Linked DNA regions of Homo sapiens: all the other regions are linked to region 1. Evidence: promoter capture Hi-C in 16 types of primary human blood cells and fetal thymus (Javierre and others, 2016). All regions are on one chromosome and are shown on one strand. Each heading gives the region's core, a stretch centred on a gene start or on the middle of the fragment in contact. The rest is flanking DNA. Distances are from core to core; before and after follow the strand shown.

Region 1 (2,700 bases), core at 60-2,559:
TTTTGTGCTAATTCTTTATATCAGGCAATTATTAGTGAGAACTTTCCCATCACGGCTTTCCCTGACTCCATTCTCTGACAGCTTTCACAATCTAGAGACAGAATCCCGGAGGGAGAGGAGTACCAAATAGCTTAAGAGTTTTTTTTTGTTTTTGTTTTTTTTCTTAAAAAAAAAACCGCTAAACTCTACCCTGATCAGTGAAAAGAATTTAGCTGAAAGATGCAGTTTCTTCTTGGCAGATTCAGACAAGAAGTGCGGCGGAAGCTTACACCTGCACGTGGTGGGACAGAGGCAAGAACGGATGGTCTGGCTGAGGCTGAGAGAACCAAGCTGGATTAGGATCGGCTTGAGGGCCCGGCGTCGTCAGTGGTGACCTCTCTGACCTGAGGCAAGTGAGTCAGGCTGGACTGAGCGTGTTAACGTCGGTGTTTGTCAATGTGACGCGCTAGAATAATCCCTTTATCTTTCCCAACTTTTGTTTGTTGAGTGTAGGCAACTATAATGAATGGAAAGGAAACCGGATTGTACTTTAAATCCGAGAACATTCTCTACTCTCCAGAACAAGTCATCTGCAGGCGCAGGCAGTGGAATCCGTGAGGCCAGCTGTACGGCGGGCCGCCCCGGACCCAGGCTTGGCTCCTCACTTTCCGCTGTTTTTAGTGCGGTCCTACAAGTGCCCTGGTGCAGCCCGAGATCAGTAATAAATGCAGCTGAAATACACCGGCTCCCACGTTCTCGCGGGGGTACCTGCCAGGCCGGCGTCCACGCTCCTCCCCGGCTCCCGGCCGACCGCGTTCTCGGCGGAGGCATCAACCACGCGGGCACGCAAAGCCACGAGGGCCGAATCTCAGCGACTTCTTCCCGCTGTGCCTCCCGCACGCTCCGGGGCGGGCGCCGACAGCCCCCGGGTGCAGCTGCGGATGCTCGGGGAAGCGTGGCCTGGGCAGGTGGCTCCGCTGCTCTCTCGGAGCGCCACCAGCGAGAGGGGCGACCCGAGAACAAAGGCGGGAGAGGAGCGGCGACCGCGAGCGCGTAGAGGCGGAGGCCGCGCAGTCTCCGCGCGACTGCTCCGGGCAGGGCGACCCCCGGCAGAGAGGGGGCGGGGCGGGGACCCCCGGGAGGGGCGGGGAGGGGCGCGGCGGGGGCGCGGAGAGAGGGAGGGAACGAGGGTGACGCGCGGAGGGGCCGGGCCGGGGGCCGCGGGGAGGGGGCGGCTGCGAGCGCGCCAAGTGGCGACGTGCCGGGCCGGGGCGGGCCGGAGGGCGGGCGGGAGGTGGGGCGCGCCGGGGGCTGGGGGGAGCCGCGGCCGAGTACAACGCCGGGCCGTGGGGAGCCAGGCGGCGGCGGGGCTGAGGCGGCCGCGGGGCTGAGGGGAGCGGCGGGGCTGAGGCGAGCGGCGGGGCTGAGGCGAGCGGCGGGGCTGAGGCGGCCGCGGGGCTGAGGCGAGCGAGCGGCGGGGCTGAGGCGAGCGAGTGGCGGGGCTGAAGGGAGTCGCGGCGGCGCTGAGGCCAGCGGCGGAGCTGTGGGGGGCAACGGTGCTGAGGCGGTGGCCGCGGCCGGGCGGGTTGGGCTGACGTGAGAAGCGCCGCCGCCGCTGGGCCTCCTCCATTCCGGCCCGCAGCCCCGCGCCCTCCCAGCCTTTGGCGCCCTCCCGCGCGGGCGGCGCGCTGGCGACGGCCATGGCGGTGGCGGCGGCGCTGGCGGGCCGCGGGGCGCGCGGCGGCAGGGGCCGGCCCCCGGGCGGGCGGGCGGAGGGGGCGGGGCCGGGGCGGCGGGGGGCCCGCGCGGCGGCGGCGGCGGCGGCGGCGGCAGCGGCGGCGGCGGCCGGGACAAGGCGGAGGCGACGGCGGCGGCGGCGGCGCGGGGCGCTCGGGCTGATGGCGGCGGCGGCCGGGCCCGGGGCTGCGCTGTCCCCGCGGCCGTGCGACAGCGACCCAGCCACCCCCGGAGCGCAGTCCCCGAAGGTGAGGAAGCGGCCGGTGCGACCCGACCCTGACCCCGTCCCGGGCCTGGGTGCCGGGGCGTGGGCCCAGTCCCACCGGCGGCCGCCCAGCGTCTCGGGGGCGTGGGCCCAGGCCGGGCGCCGCGCCTGAGACCGGGGGTGGTCGGCGAGGCGGGGCCCCGAGGTGAGCCCGCGGCCTCTAGCGAGCAACAAGTGCGGGCGGGCGGGGGACGCGGCGCGGCTTCCCCGAAGTTGGCAGCCGGCCCTGCTTGACAAGCTTGTCCCCAAAACGCCTCCTCCTAGGCCAGCCGTGGGACGGAACGCGCCCGGGGCCGAGAGAGTTGGCCTCGGAGGGGCCTGCAGAAGCGCGCGTTCGCTCAGCGTTCATTCCGCGCATAGTTTGCCGAAGTGTTTGAACGCTTACTGCAAAAACCGAGTGGCGAACGATATGGAAAATCAACACACTCAGTGAACTTACTGTAATAACTAAGTTAATACGCAAGCGTCCGGATGTTTTCAGCGGAAGTCTGTTAAAACTTTTTACTGCTTGAGGAGGTGAAAAGAAATTGGTGCTTGTGGAGAAAATGGAGATGAGCAGTAGTGTCACGCATCAAAACGTTTTGGTTCTAAAGTTAGGCTAGCAGTTTGTGACAGAAAGTTGGAAGGGAGGAATGATGTTTTAAAAGCCTGGAAGCTTGAAATTGGATTGAAATTAGAAGGCGGTGGGAACTGGAATGCTGCAGAGCCAGCCAGCCTTC
Region 2 (2,700 bases), core at 162-2,661, 810 kb before region 1:
GTGCTTAAGTAAGCAGCATTTTCTTCAGATGAAGAATTTCTTTAATCTTTTTTCCTGAGGTGAGGTGGGACTACAGGAAGAGAAGCCCGGTTGGCAGCTTTTTAGGCCTCAGAGGAGGAAGGGGGCTGAAGGTCTGTGTTTTGTTTACATCAACTTTCCATTTCATGTGTTTTGCTCCTACCCTTTGCCACTCTAGAGCCTGGTCCCCTAAGTCCAGAGCCTCTGCTAATGTCTCAGGAGACTTCCTTTACTGTCTTCTGTGTTGGTGGATGCAGGGACCTGGAGAGCAGTGCTCCATATTGAAACCTTCAGGACAGCAAGGTCCACAGCTCTTTCCCTTGGTGTCAACCGCTGTCTGCACTAACCTCTCTGTCTTTAATCTCTTAGCTGCTCTCATGCCTTTTAAAAATTTTTCTCCCAAATTAAAAGTGGCTTTAGTTTTTCTGTAGTGAAAACAATCAGTACATGTTTATACATACACTCATGCAGTTTTATGTAAGTAGGACTTTGGTATCTGTTTTTCTGTAACTATACATTATGTATTATCAAGGAGATCTAAGCTATATGCATAATGATTTTTGTATTTAATTAACAAAAAATTTTTTTGTCTTCTGTTTTTGCTGCTGTAATACATAGCATCATTTACCTAACCAGTCCTCTAAAGGGCATTTTGGCTTCCTGTTTTCTTAATATAAACACTATGATGAACATCCTTGTACATACATTTTTGTGTACTTCCCCAATTATGCTTGTCTTGCTAGAATAAACTTCGAGTAGTTGAAGTATTGGGTCAGATAAATTTTTTTTTGTATTTTGTTGAGTATACTCTTTCTGAAGGATACGCCAGTACCCTGAGTACCCGATTTTATATAACCTTCCCAGTATTAGAATTAACACATTTTGAAACATCTTTTTGCCTATTGAACAGTTTATTATTTTCATTTATATATATTCTTGGGCATGTTTTCATATGTTTATTGACTTTATAAATTTCCTCTTTGGAGACTGATTCATATATTAACTGTTGCCCATTTCCTTATTTGCAGGTTAGTTTTCTTCTTACTGATTTTCAAGAACTACATTCGACTGTGTCAAATGTCTGTGATATTATAGATACTCCCAAGAGTGTTATTTGTCTCTTTTGGGTGGTGCCTTTTGCTACACAGAAATTGCTGTGTTTCATACAGTCTAATCTGTCAATCATTTCTTTATGACATTCAGTTTCTTGCCTTGTTAGAAAAACTTCTCCCATCCAAAGCTTAGCTGTATTTCTTTTAAGACTTGTCTGATTTTATTTTTTACATTGAAATGATTGTGCTTTTTGGATTTTACTTTGATGAGGAAAAGCACTTTGTAATCAAGATTCATGCCATTCTACATTTATTTTTGTTTTTATTTATTGATTTTTGCTGTTTTATACTGATTTTACTAGTGTCTCTCTTGCTTCTTCTAGGGGGTCTTTAAAGCTGTGTTCTTGGACATAGCCCACCCTTTCTTTGGTTTATTTTTTTAAATTTGTTGTGTGTGGTTTTCTGAGATTGGTTCCATCCTTGGGTAAAGCTTTTGGGCCTCAGTTTACTTGTGGCCTGTCATCCTCATGAGAGATACAATCATTTTTCTGCCTTTACACCTTACATCTCTTTCTTTTTTTGTATATTGAGGTTAGTGGATTGCCTGCTGTGATCTCATGTCTTGTCCCAAGCTTGCTTCCAGCAAAAATACTTCCCAGTTTCTTAGGTGACCTCAGATGGTGCCTTCTCCACCAGAGAATTCAGTTTACACAATCCTTTTTCTTTTTTTGAGACCAAGTCTCGCTCTGTTGCCCAGGCTGGAGTGCAGTGGCATGATCTCGGCTCACCACAACCTCCGCCTCCTGGGTTCAAGCGATTCTCCTGCCTCAGCCTCCCAAGTAGTTGGGAATAGAGGCACGTGCCACCATGCTCAGCTAATTTTTGTATTTTTAGTAGAGATGGGGTTTCACTGTGTTGGCCAGGCTGATCTCGAACTCCTGACCTCGTGATCGGCCCACCTCAGCCTCCCAGAGTGCTGGGATTACAGGCGTGAGCCACCGCGCCTGGCCAAGTTTACGCAGTTCTATAGTAGAAAACATACAAAGCTAACAGTGGCAGTTGTACATGGTTAGTAAGGAGATTGTCCCTATATCACATCTCCCAGGGTACTGAGTTCTGGTATATAATGTGTTTTCTAAATCAGTTATGTTTTTAAAAAATCATACCTTGTAAATGACTCGTGATTTCTCATACCCAGAACACGGTTGTTTTTAACAGGCCTTTTTAACGATTGTAGAATCACCTGTGTTCTTTGTAACAAACTCAAATAAGATAGAAGCACATGAATTAATTCCCTTCTTTTCTTGCCTCTAATTCAGAGCTCAAAGATGACCAGCCACAGTTACTTATCTTTCCAGACTTTTTTGTGCTTGTACAAATAGTTTTCTTATTCTTTTAAACAAAAGCAGTATCGTATTTTACAGGTTACAGAATTCTCTTCGTTTTACTGTGTCTTGCGGATGTGTCCCTTGGACCTGTCTATATACATAAGTCGTGCTTTCCTTCAAGTTCTCCTCTTCGTTAGCTTAGGAGAGCCAAGAAATAAAGACTTTCTTACAAATGACTGTTTGAGTTTGGCTGATGTGTCCTACAGAAACCTCACCATCTCTCTCTGTGTTCTCCCTACTCT
Region 3 (2,755 bases), core at 212-2,711, 770 kb after region 1:
ATGCTTTTGGTACTGTATCTTAAAACTCACCACCAAAACCAAAGCCATGCAGCTTTTCTGTTATGTTTTTTTTCTAGAAGTTGTATGGTTTTGCATTTTACATTCAAATCTATAATCCACTATGAATTAATGTTTGTATATGGAAAAGGTATATATTGGTCCTATTTGGGACATTTGCATATCAAATGTTCCAACACAATTAACTGAAAGGATTCTCTTTCTTTCCTAACATGACTTGTACCTATGCCAAAAGTCACTTGTCAATATATGTCTGAGTCAATTTCTCTATTCTTACTTTTGTTCCATTGATTGCCTATCCCAGTGCCAATGCCACATTTTATTGTTTACTGTCACGTTATAGTGTCTTAAAATCAAGTTATGTGAGTACTTTACTTTTGTTGTTTTGTTCATTTTCCAGAATTTTGTTTTGTTTTTCTTGCAGAATTTTTGTGATTATTATAGTTTCTTTGCCTTTCTACATGAATTTTGATTCAGCTTGTTGTTATTTACAAAGTAGACTTGCTGGAATTTTATTGAGATTGCATTGCTCAAATCAGGGAAAATGGGAGAATGGACATCTTTGAAATATTAAGCCTCAAATCCATGAAACTGCATATTTCTTCATTTACTTAGATATTTCTTCCTTCTTTCATCAGTGTTTTGTAGTTTTCAGCATACAGACGCTGCACCTATTTTGTTATATTTATACCTAATGCTTCATTTATTTTAGTACGATTTAGTGCCTTTTAAATAGTATTGTGTATATTTGAGGTTTACAACATGATGCTATGAAATATAGATGGTAAAATGGTTACAGTGGTGAAACAGATTAACATATCTATTATCTCACATATTTTTTGTGACAAAGGCAGCTAAAATCTACTTATTTAACAAAAATCCTTAACATGGTATAATTTTATGAAGTTTGGCCCTCACGTTGTGCATCCAGTCTCCGGAACTGTTGTCCCACCTACCTTCTATGATATTTTGATCCCTTTGACCTACATCCCCCCATGTCCTCTTGCAACCCCCACCCATGGAAACACTGTTACACACTCTGTCTCTGTGTGTTTGAGGGTTTTTAAAAAAATATCTCACATATAAGTGAGATCATTCAATTGTTTTCTTTCTGTGTCTGGGTTATTTCACATAGAATCATGTCCTCCAGGCCCAGCCATGTTGTGCAAATGACATTTTTTTTAAAATTCAAATTCCAAATGTTCATTATTACAGGTAGAAACATTTTTAATTTTCATGTAAGTTGTTTCCTTTTGGGCATAGAGATGTTTGTAATATTACTGATTTTAGGTGTTTCCTGATTTCTATTACAAGCACTTAGTACTCTACATTTCCCTCAAAGCACTGCTTAGCTGCATCCTGATAATTTTGATATATTGTATTTTAATTTTTGATTCAAAATATTTTTAGTTTAGTGTAAGACTTCAGTTTTGACCCATCATTCATTTAGAAGTGTGTTGTTTATTTGCCATATATTCAGAGATTTTCCAGATATATTTTTGTTTATTTTCAGTTAATTTCATTATGGTTTCAGAACATACTTTGCTTGTTTTCTACTCTTTTTTCATGTTTAAGGTTTAGTCTATGGCACAGACTATCAGCTATCTTGGGAAATATTTCAATTTAAAGATATACTTTGCTGCTGTCTGGAGGAATTTTCTATAAATGCCAATAATAATTAGTTAATAGCATTTATGGAATAAAAATAGGACATAAGATTAGTGATCTTCTGTTTGGCAAAGTTTTCTTAAAGAGGACACAAGAAATTATACATTATAAATTTAAAAAAATGAAAATTATAATCTTTTATTCTTCAAAAGACATCATTAAAATTATTTAATAGACTGAAAGGAAGTATTTGCAAAATAAATATCTGAAAAAGAGCTTTTGTTCTGAATATATAAATAATTTATAACACAATGGTAAGAAAACAAACAACTCAGTACATTTGTGGACTGAGTTGGACAAATATTTTAATGGATATTTCAACAACAACAACAACAAGAAGAAAAGATGCACAAATGGCAAATCAGCAACGGAAAAGATGCTCAACAGTACTAGTCTTTAGGGAAAAGGAGGTTAAAACCATAAGAGCAATACCATTGCACTCGTGTGAGAATATCTAATATTTAAAAGTATGACCATAGCAAACGCTGGTGAGGATGCAGAGCAATTTCAACTCTTATACACTTCGGCTGAGAATGTAAACCGTTTTGGAAAACAGTGTGGTCAATTTATAAAACATTAAACATTCACCTACCATATGACTCAGATATTCTACTCCTAGAATTAATACATTTGAGACCCAAATTTTTGGATACAAATGCTCATATCATTTTTTATTTTTAATATAAAAATAATATATTAAATAATATATTAAATATATATATTAAATAATATAGAAAATAATATAAATGTCTATTAGCAGGTAAATGGGTAGATAAATTGTGCTGTGCTCATGCAACGGGCAACGACTCAGCCATAAAAAGGAACAAACTACTGGGGGACGCAATGAGTGGACGATGCACCCAAAATTGTCAGGTGAAATTAAAGCAGCCAGGTTAAAAGTAAGAAAGAGCATGCACTGCAAGACTCCATTTACATGAAATTCTGGAAAATGAAAACCATTTTACAGTGGCAGAAATCAAACTGACAGTTGCCTCAGGACAGGAACAGAGGGAGGAATGGACACCAAGGAACATGAGGAAGCCTTTTGCTTACAGAAACACATGTTTTC
Region 4 (2,700 bases), core at 92-2,591, 800 kb before region 1:
AACAGGAGTCCAGGGGCGATATGTTAGAAAACCTAACAAGAACTGGACATTTACAAGAAGTCAGGTGTAAGGACTGAGGAGACGTGGTTTCTTTACTTTTGCAGAACAGCTGTGCAGCCAGTCCCTGGGATGGGCTCCTGTCCGGGGCTGCGCACTCACAGGCTGCCAGAGTGAGCAATGGAAAGGCAGGTTAGGCTTCTCCCCATGCTACTCAGGCCGCTGTGCTCCACCACAGCCTACGGGAGGCAGCCAAGCTCCTCTGCTACGTGTACTGTCAGAGGCTGGTCACCTCCCCTCACTTTTAAGGGTCTCTGACCCTCACTTTTCTGGCAACAGCAAGTTGCTTATCGTTGCCCAAAGATACTGAAGTGGTTGTAGGCTCTGGAATCCAAAAGACAGAGAATCAGGCCTACCCCATCTCTTCCTGTCTGTGTGGCCTCAGGCAGTTAGTGGAAGTCCGTAGGCCTTGCTCCCTCACTTATGAAATGTGGATGATAGTACCTTCCTCATAGGCACCCAGTGAAGAGTACATGAGATAATGTTTGTAAAGCTCTTGTTCCAGTGCCTAACACAGTACGTCCTCAGTGAATCACAGTTATTCCTGTTATGCCTTACAGGCTATTTTCCCAGCGGGGACCCACAACCCCTCCATGCACCCCTAGCTCCCATATGCCTGGAAACTCACATTCATCTTTCAAACGTGAGTCAAGTTTTGACTCAAGTGTGCCTCTCTGTGAAGCTGCCTCTGATCCCGTCCCCCGCCTTCTTTTTCTCTGTCCATTTCCATTTCTTATGACTGCATAGTATTCCATAGTGTATATGTACCACATTTTCTTTATCTAATCCACTGTTGATAGGCACCTAGGTTGATTCCATGTCTTTGCTATTGTCAGTAGTGCTGTGATGAATGTGTGTGTGCATGTCTTTTTTTCTTTTTGAGACAGAGTTTCGCTCTTGTTGCCCAGGCTGGAGTGCAATGATGTGCAAACTCTGCCTCCTGGGTTCAAGCAATTCTTCTGCCTCAGCCTCCTGAGTAGCTGGGATTACAAGCATGCGCTACCACACCTGGCTAATTTTGTATTTTTAGTAGAGACAAGGTTTCTCCATGTTGGTCAGGCTGGTCTCAAACTCCCAACCTCAGGTCATCCTCCAACTTCGGCCTCCCAACGTGCTGGGATTACAGGCGTGGGCCACTGTGCCCAGTGCATGTGTCTTTTTGGTAGAATGAATTGTTTTCATTTGGATATATACCCAGTAGTGGGATTGCTGGGCCAAATTGTAGTGCTGTTTTAACTTTTTCAAGAACTCTTCAAACTGCTTTCTATAGTGGCTGAACTAATTAACCTTCCCACCAACAGTGTATAATTATTCCTTTTTCTCCACAGCATCACAGCATCTGTTGTTTTTTGACTGTTTAGTAATAGCCATTTTGACTGGTGTGAGATGGTATCTCATTGTGGTTTTGATTTGCATTTCTCTGATGATTAGTGATATGGAGCATTTTTTTGCGTTTGTTGGCTGCATGTCTGTCTTCTTTTGAGGAGCGTCTTTTCATGTCTTTTGCCCATTTTTTAATGGGGTTGTTTTTTGCTTGTTCATTTGTTTAAGTTCCTTGTAGGTTCTGGATATTAGACCTTTGTCAGATGTGTGTTTTTTGAATATTTTCTCCCATTCCGTAGGTTGTCTGTTTACTCTGTTGATAGTTTCTTTTGCTGTGCAGAAGCCCTTTAATTATGTCCCACTTGTCAATTTTTGTTTTTGTTGAAATTGCTTTTGAGGACTGAATTACAAGTTCTTTCCTAAGGCTAATGTCTAGAATGGTTTTTCCTAGGTTTTCTTCTAGGATTCTTAACAGTTTGAGGTCTTACATTTAAATCTTTAATCCACATGAACTAATTTTTGTATACGGTGAAAGGTAGGAATCCAGTTTCATTCTTCTGTGTATGACTAGACAGCGAACCCAGCACCATTTATTGTTTAGAGAGCCCTTTCCCCATTGCTTATTTTTGTTGACTTTGTTGAAGATCAGATGGCTGTAGGTGTGTGGCTTTATTTCTGGGTTCTGTATTCTGTTCCATTAGTCTATGTGTCTGTTTTTGTACCAGTGCCAAGTTATTTTGGCTACTGTAGTATTATAGTATAGTTTGAAGTCGGATAATGTGATGCCTCTGGCTGTGTTCTTCTTGCTTAATATTGCTTTGGCTATTTGGATTTTTTTTTGTTCCATATGAATCTTACAGTAGTTTTTTCTAGTTATTTGAAAAATGACATTGGTAGTTTGATAGGAATAGCATTGAATCTGTAGATTACTTTGGGCAGTATGGCCAGATTAATGATACTGATTCTTCCAGTCCATGGGTAGGGAATGTTTTTCCATTTGTTTGTATCATCTATGATTCCTTTCAGCAGTGTTTTGTAGTTCTTCTTGTAGAGATCTTTCACCTCCTAGTTAGATGTATTCCTAGGTATTTTATTTTCTTTGTGGCTGTTGTAAATGAGATCATGTTCTTGATTTGGTTCTCAGCTTGAATGTTATTGGTGTATAAAAATGCTACTGATTTTTATACATTGACTTTGTATTCTACAACCTTACTGAAATTGTTTATCAATTCTAGGAGCCTTTTGGTGGAGTATTTAGGGTTTTCTAGGTATAGAAACATATCATCTGCTAAGAGAGATAATTTGACTTCTTTTTTTCCT
Region 5 (2,713 bases), core at 186-2,685, 860 kb before region 1:
ACCTGGTCCGCCCAGGGCGGAAAACTGCTTAAAGGCATTCTTAAGCCACAAACAATAGCATGAGCGATCTGTGCCTTAAGGACATGCTCCTGTTGCAGTTAACTAGCCCAACCTATTCCTTTAATTCGGCACATCCCTTCGTTTCCCATAAGGGATACTTTTAGTTAACTTAATATCTATAGAAACAATACCAATGACTGGCTTGCTGTTAATAAATATGTGGGTAAATCTCTGTTTGGAGCTCTCAGCACTGAAGGCTGTGAGACCCCTGATTTCCCACTTCACACCTCTATATTTGTGTGTGTGTGTCTTTAATATCCCCTAGTGCCACTGGGTTAGGGTCTCCCCGATCGAGCTGGTCTCAGAATTTCCTCTGCATGGGCTTTTGTTTCTTTGTGTATCTCATATTTTTGCTCAAAACTGAATATTTTAAAGACTAGGATGTGGTAACTGTAAGCCAGACCCTTCCCTCTCAAGGGTTTTGTTGTTGTTGCTGTTGAATTTTTTAGTGACTTTCCCTGACTAATTCTATGAAGTCTGTATTCTTTGTCATGTGTCTTTCAGTCTTTGCTTAGTGTGCTGAGTGGTCAGCTAATGATTAGATAGAGATTTCCTTAAATGCCTTGAACCTATGTCTCCCAGCCTTTGTAGAGTGGCTTTGTATGTGCTGGGACACATCTTCAACACTCTGGCAGTCCAAGTCTGCTTTAGCCTTCACTTTCTGATGGCACAGAACCCCAGAGTCAAATGTAAAACATTACAGCTGCCTCAGGTCTTTCATGGCCACGCACAAAGCCCTGCCCCTGTGTAGCTGTCTAGATTTCTGGAATATATCAGAGCTTTTCAAAGCCTTCTTTGAACATATCATTCCCCAGGATTTCTTTTTTTCATTTTTAAAAATTGTGGTAAAATACACATAACATAAAATTTATCATCTTAACCATTTTTATGTGTACAATTCAGTACTATTAAGTCCAGTAAGTCCTCATTTATCATGGATAGATTCTTGGAAACTGTGACTTTAAGCAACACTACTGGTAATAAAACCAATTTGCCATGGGATGATTGATATAAACAAGAGTTAAGTTCTTGTAACATATTTCTGGTCACAAAAACATCAACAAACGTCTAAATAAAGACCCCAAATATTTCTCATTTTAAACATTGAAATAAATGTGAGCTATACATTTAAGAAAGATTGATAAAAACAAGATAATTTTTTTTGGAGATGGAGTCTTGCTCTGTTGCCCAGGCTGGAGTGCAGCGGTGCGATCTCGGCTCACTGCAACCTCCACCTCCCAAGTTCAAGTGATTCTCCTGCCTCAGCCTCCCAAGTAGCTGGGAGTACAGGTGCGCACCACCATGCCTGGCTATTTTTTGTATTTTTAGTAGAGACAGGGTTTCACCATGTTGGTCAGGCTATCTGCAGCTTTTAACAATTGAGTAACACATACTCCTATGAACAAAATTTGGAGCACATTTGGTTCTCTCTACCCGATTTCTCCAGAATTTGGAAACTGTAAGTATTCTTAACTTATGACAATACAGTTATTTGCATAAGTGCACTAATAATCTGTTTTCATTTGTAACAGGACACAATTGGGGAAACTGGTTGTTTACCAATGCTTTTACTTGACTTACGGAGCCAATTAAACCCCCTTGGAAAAACCGTCCTCATAACTTTGTCTACACAGCTCCTGTACAGGGTTCCTGACCTGTGGTAAGTAAAGAATGTCACTTTCTGACAGGCCCAGGAGCCTCAAGTTTATCTTGGAACCTCAAGAGGAGAGGATCACCAAACTCACAGGTATTTGATGGCACAAATCCATGGCTGGGCTCAGCTTTTAAAAAGTCTTATCTGAAATACCCTCTATGGAACAAAGTTCCATCAAAGCCAATTTAAAAGCCAATGTTAAAAAATAATTATTCTTGCTGCACTGTATACAAATAATTCGGCCAAATATAATAAGGCAAACCTATCATGATTTGTCTTTAGTATAAATGGGAAACTAGAGACTGGAAAACTATAGTCCACCAGTTGTTAGATTCTAGTCTTGCCTAATGTTTTTCAATTTTTATCATTTTCTACAGTTTGGACCAAATTCTAATTTTTGTGGGCTACAAGTCTTCAAAATAATGTTTTCAATTTTTTTCCTTCTTTTTTTCCCCATTTTTCCTAATTTGGAGTCACTTAAAACTAAGCTGTCACTAAACTAAGTCACTTAAAACTAACTTTCGTGAAGCCCTGTGAACTGAAGTAGACAACTTAAACTTCAGAAGAAAATAATGGGAACCTATTTACATACATAAGCCACTTTCATACCTGCTTACTGATGTATGGACTTCAGAGTAATGTGGCCTAGATCAATTTTCCAAGATTGTTCTTATTGTTCTCCCTTCCTCCCCAAATTTTCTCTTGATAGGATATTAGACTTCACAACCTTCTAAAAATGAGCTTTCCTAATAACTCAGGACCTACCCTTCTAGGAAAAAACCATCCTAGCCATGAGAGAGCAGATAAAACCTGGGAACAGAAACTTATTTTCTTCAAAAATGCTTTCTCCAAAATATTTTAAAAAAGAAAAGGGGGGAAATGTGAAAGGAAATTACCTTGGAATCCCATAATCACTAAGCTAATGGGAAAAGTCAAGCTGGGAACTGCTTAGGGCAAACCTGCTTCCCATTCCATTCAGTCATCCCTCTGCTCACTGAG
Region 6 (2,700 bases), core at 139-2,638, 850 kb before region 1:
CGTTCTCTTTGGACTGCAATCTGGTATCAACTGATTAAAACTCAGAATGTATAGTCTTTAGTTCCTCTTCTAGGAAAGTTTACTACATGAATACCTGCACTCATCCGAAAAATACACATACAAGGATGTTCCCTGCAGCGCTGTTGATGATATTGAAAAACTAGAGGTCATGTAAATGACCATAATTACAGGAATAGCTCAGTAAGTGAAGGTACCTAAGAAGAGTATCCTAGATTCCCAATCATGGAAATAGGTTTATGATATATTGACTGAAAAAAGGGAAAGCTATAAAATTGAATGTATTATTTCTTTTTTCCAAAAATGGGATCAAATGCCATGCCCAGAAGATAGACAGAACAGGGCTTAGAAGATACCCACTAATCTGGTCGTTATCTTGGGGAAAGAGGCAGAAGAGAAAGGAAGGAAGGACCTCCCCTTTCTGATTTTATTCCTGAGTCAGCTGAAGATGTACTTTTACAATTAAAAACAACAAACCACTCTAACAATAAAACCTAAGAACCCACAAATGTCCACCTGATAGTCCATGAGAAAAAAACTGCAAAACAAGCAAAAAAAAGTTACTGCAGAGAGTTGGCAGCCTGTGGATAGGGCACCAGCTTCTACACCTGAAGGACTCACTCATTTTTACCACTTACTAGCTGTGTAACCTCAGCCAAGTCCCTCAGCTGGGGCTTCCTTATCTCCTCACCTCCAACAGAGGAACAAAACGTAACTGAAGCTTTGTGAGGATTCCAGGCATTGTATGCAAAATACCTAGAAAACAGGAGTTGCTCAATATATGGAAGGTTCTCAGATCATTAATCTGTTTTCATTGCAGCATACAATGAAATACTGACTGAAGCAAACACCAAAATGGTTTCAGGCATTATATCTAAAATACAACTTTGTAGAAAACAGTATGATCACATGACTCTTACAAGGTATAACAACAATCTAACACTTTTATAAACTGCATTTATTGTACAGAGTACTCTGAAGAAAGAAAAAAATATGTACAGCCATTCATTTTCATTAACACATATATTCTGTCCTGCAATACTGGAGAGGTGGAATGTGTCTGGCACAGAAATAACCCCTAGGAGTTATAAATTAGAAAAACAACACTTTTAAAAAAGATTTTTACTTTTCTGGTAGAAATATAAAAACTGTGGTTCATGGGGAAAAACATTAAAATTAAAAAGTCCAATCAATTATAGAGGTGGCTTTAACACTTAAAGTTTTCTCCCTCAAACCAACTTGTCAACAGCAGTGTTTAAAATCTACATATAAATAAATGGGCAGCGCTGCCCAGATAGCAGCACGGTATGAGCAACTCACAGTCACGCTGCGCGGTGTTCTCAGTGCACAAATAATGCCCCTTCCCGGCATCCCGCGGTGGGCACTTACAGAAGGGCATCACCTGGTGCCACACCCTGCAACTCAACATCCATCTTCTCACAACACCACCATTTAAAGGTACCAAAACAAACTGATTTGTTTAAAAAAAAAAAAAGAAGGGGGTGGGGGAGGCAAGGGTACATGAGAGCCATTACGTCGTCTTCCTGAATCCCTTTAGAATAGGGTAGATGTTTTCAAATGCTTCATAAATTTCTGCTCTGACTTTAGCACCTAAGAAGACAAGTTGGAGTAGAGATGAGAGACTGAAATGGCACTTCTTAACATATTAAGATGGTAAAATTCTTACCTTAAAGCTGCAAGCACAATTCTCACCATACCCAGTCAGATTAAGGCACAGGCATGAAAACATTAATAGTGGAATCCCTTGTCACAATCTTATTTTTGTTTATAAAACAATACTTTTAAAAAATCATCTTAGTGACTCCAGCGTCTCATTCTATAGCTCAAGAGGCATGTATTCACACTTCTCTCCTTGGTCCTGAACCAGGCCATAAACCAAGCAGGACGGCAATGATAACAACTGAATCTTCTTCTCTGAATTGCTGCCTTCAACTAGACTCATTTCTGAATCTTCCTTTCTTGTCTCATAATCATATTGCTGAGGAATCCTAAAGCTTCAGATAACTAATTCCAAGTGAAAACGCCATCTTTTGTTCAATGCAATGCTCACCTCCTCACTGTAAATGGAAGTCTGCTTGCAGAGCTGTGGTCAGACTTCCCTGCTCTCACTGTGCCTTTAGTGGGCACGTTTCTCATCAGACTTTGGGTGGGAGGCCTTTGTACAAGAAGCTAGCCCACTGTCCGAACACTGAAATTTCTTTTCAGCACTGAGAAAATGCCATACTCAAAACACTTACAAACTTTCAGATACTACTTCCTGTTACAACTTACCTGTTAATACAACTTTTCCAGAAACAAAAATAAGGAGAACAATTCTGGGTTTGATCATTCTGTAGATTAAACCAGGAAATAACTCTGGCTCATAACTAGAAGGAAAATTGCAAAAAGTTTAGAAATCAAGAGCTTTGTGTGCTTTTAGATAAAATGAGGACCTGTACAAGGAAAAATACTGAATAAACAAACTAGTCAAGAGGTAAAACACAGTTCTTCAAGCAGCATCAAAGGATAGAATAGAATAATTAAAGCAAGTGAGGCCGACTTGTAGTCGTCAGTTGATAACCACTGGATGGAAGGCTATTTGTCCTCCTATCACTTTACCCTATTTCTATTGAATCTGGATTTTCTGATTTAAGAAAAAGAGCCCTGTAGTTATGTCTGCAG

The links. The method cuts DNA at HindIII sites, captures the fragments that hold promoters and counts their contacts. A CHiCAGO score of 5 or more calls a contact.
Region 2: a fragment that was not itself captured here is called in contact with the fragment with the promoter of PHF10 in region 1 in 8 of 17 cell types (M1 macrophages, naive CD8 T cells, total CD8 T cells and 5 more); the score reaches 10.2 in M1 macrophages.
Region 3: a fragment that was not itself captured here is called in contact with the fragment with the promoter of PHF10 in region 1 in 1 of 17 cell types (M0 macrophages); the score reaches 7.3 in M0 macrophages.
Region 4: a fragment that was not itself captured here is called in contact with the fragment with the promoter of PHF10 in region 1 in 2 of 17 cell types (M1 macrophages and erythroblasts); the score reaches 5.8 in M1 macrophages.
Region 5: a fragment that was not itself captured here is called in contact with the fragment with the promoter of PHF10 in region 1 in 1 of 17 cell types (fetal thymus); the score reaches 5.6 in fetal thymus.
Region 6: a fragment that was not itself captured here is called in contact with the fragment with the promoter of PHF10 in region 1 in 1 of 17 cell types (total CD4 T cells); the score reaches 5.8 in total CD4 T cells.

Annotation. Positions count from the first base shown.
Region 1 is chr6:169,723,109-169,725,808 of GRCh38, reverse strand. It overlaps PHF10 (PHD finger protein 10), which reads left to right and starts at 1,309. Exons shown (of 12, transcript NM_018288.4): 1 at 1,309-1,964. The coding sequence starts at 1,878. It also overlaps a transcript of DYNLT2 not described here. RefSeq lists an enhancer at 644-1,186 and silencers at 1,118-1,417, 1,488-1,727, 1,828-2,207. The HindIII fragment of the contact is 1,955 bases long and covers 267-2,221 here.
Region 2 is chr6:170,537,799-170,540,498 of GRCh38, reverse strand. All of the region lies in intron 4 of PSMB1 (proteasome 20S subunit beta 1), which reads left to right. Among named protein-coding and RNA genes, the nearest start is that of PSMB1, 14 kb to the left of the region's middle. The HindIII fragment of the contact is 302 bases long and covers 1,261-1,562 here.
Region 3 is chr6:168,953,299-168,956,053 of GRCh38, reverse strand. The region is part of intron 2 of LOC105378146 (a long non-coding RNA gene); the gene reads left to right. Among named protein-coding and RNA genes, the nearest start is that of LINC01615, 210 kb to the left of the region's middle. The HindIII fragment of the contact is 3,316 bases long and covers 1-2,755 here.
Region 4 is chr6:170,520,526-170,523,225 of GRCh38, reverse strand. No RefSeq gene overlaps it. Among named protein-coding and RNA genes, the nearest start is that of PSMB1, 31 kb to the left of the region's middle. The HindIII fragment of the contact is 3,242 bases long and covers 1-2,700 here.
Region 5 is chr6:170,587,782-170,590,494 of GRCh38, reverse strand. No RefSeq gene overlaps it. Among named protein-coding and RNA genes, the nearest start is that of PDCD2, 4.5 kb to the right of the region's middle. The HindIII fragment of the contact is 4,128 bases long and covers 1-2,713 here.
Region 6 is chr6:170,571,115-170,573,814 of GRCh38, reverse strand. It overlaps TBP (TATA-box binding protein), which reads right to left. Exons shown (of 8, transcript NM_003194.5): 7 at 2,311-2,405; 8 at 956-1,629. The coding sequence ends at 1,550. Among named protein-coding and RNA genes, the nearest start is that of PDCD2, 12 kb to the left of the region's middle. The HindIII fragment of the contact is 1,294 bases long and covers 742-2,035 here.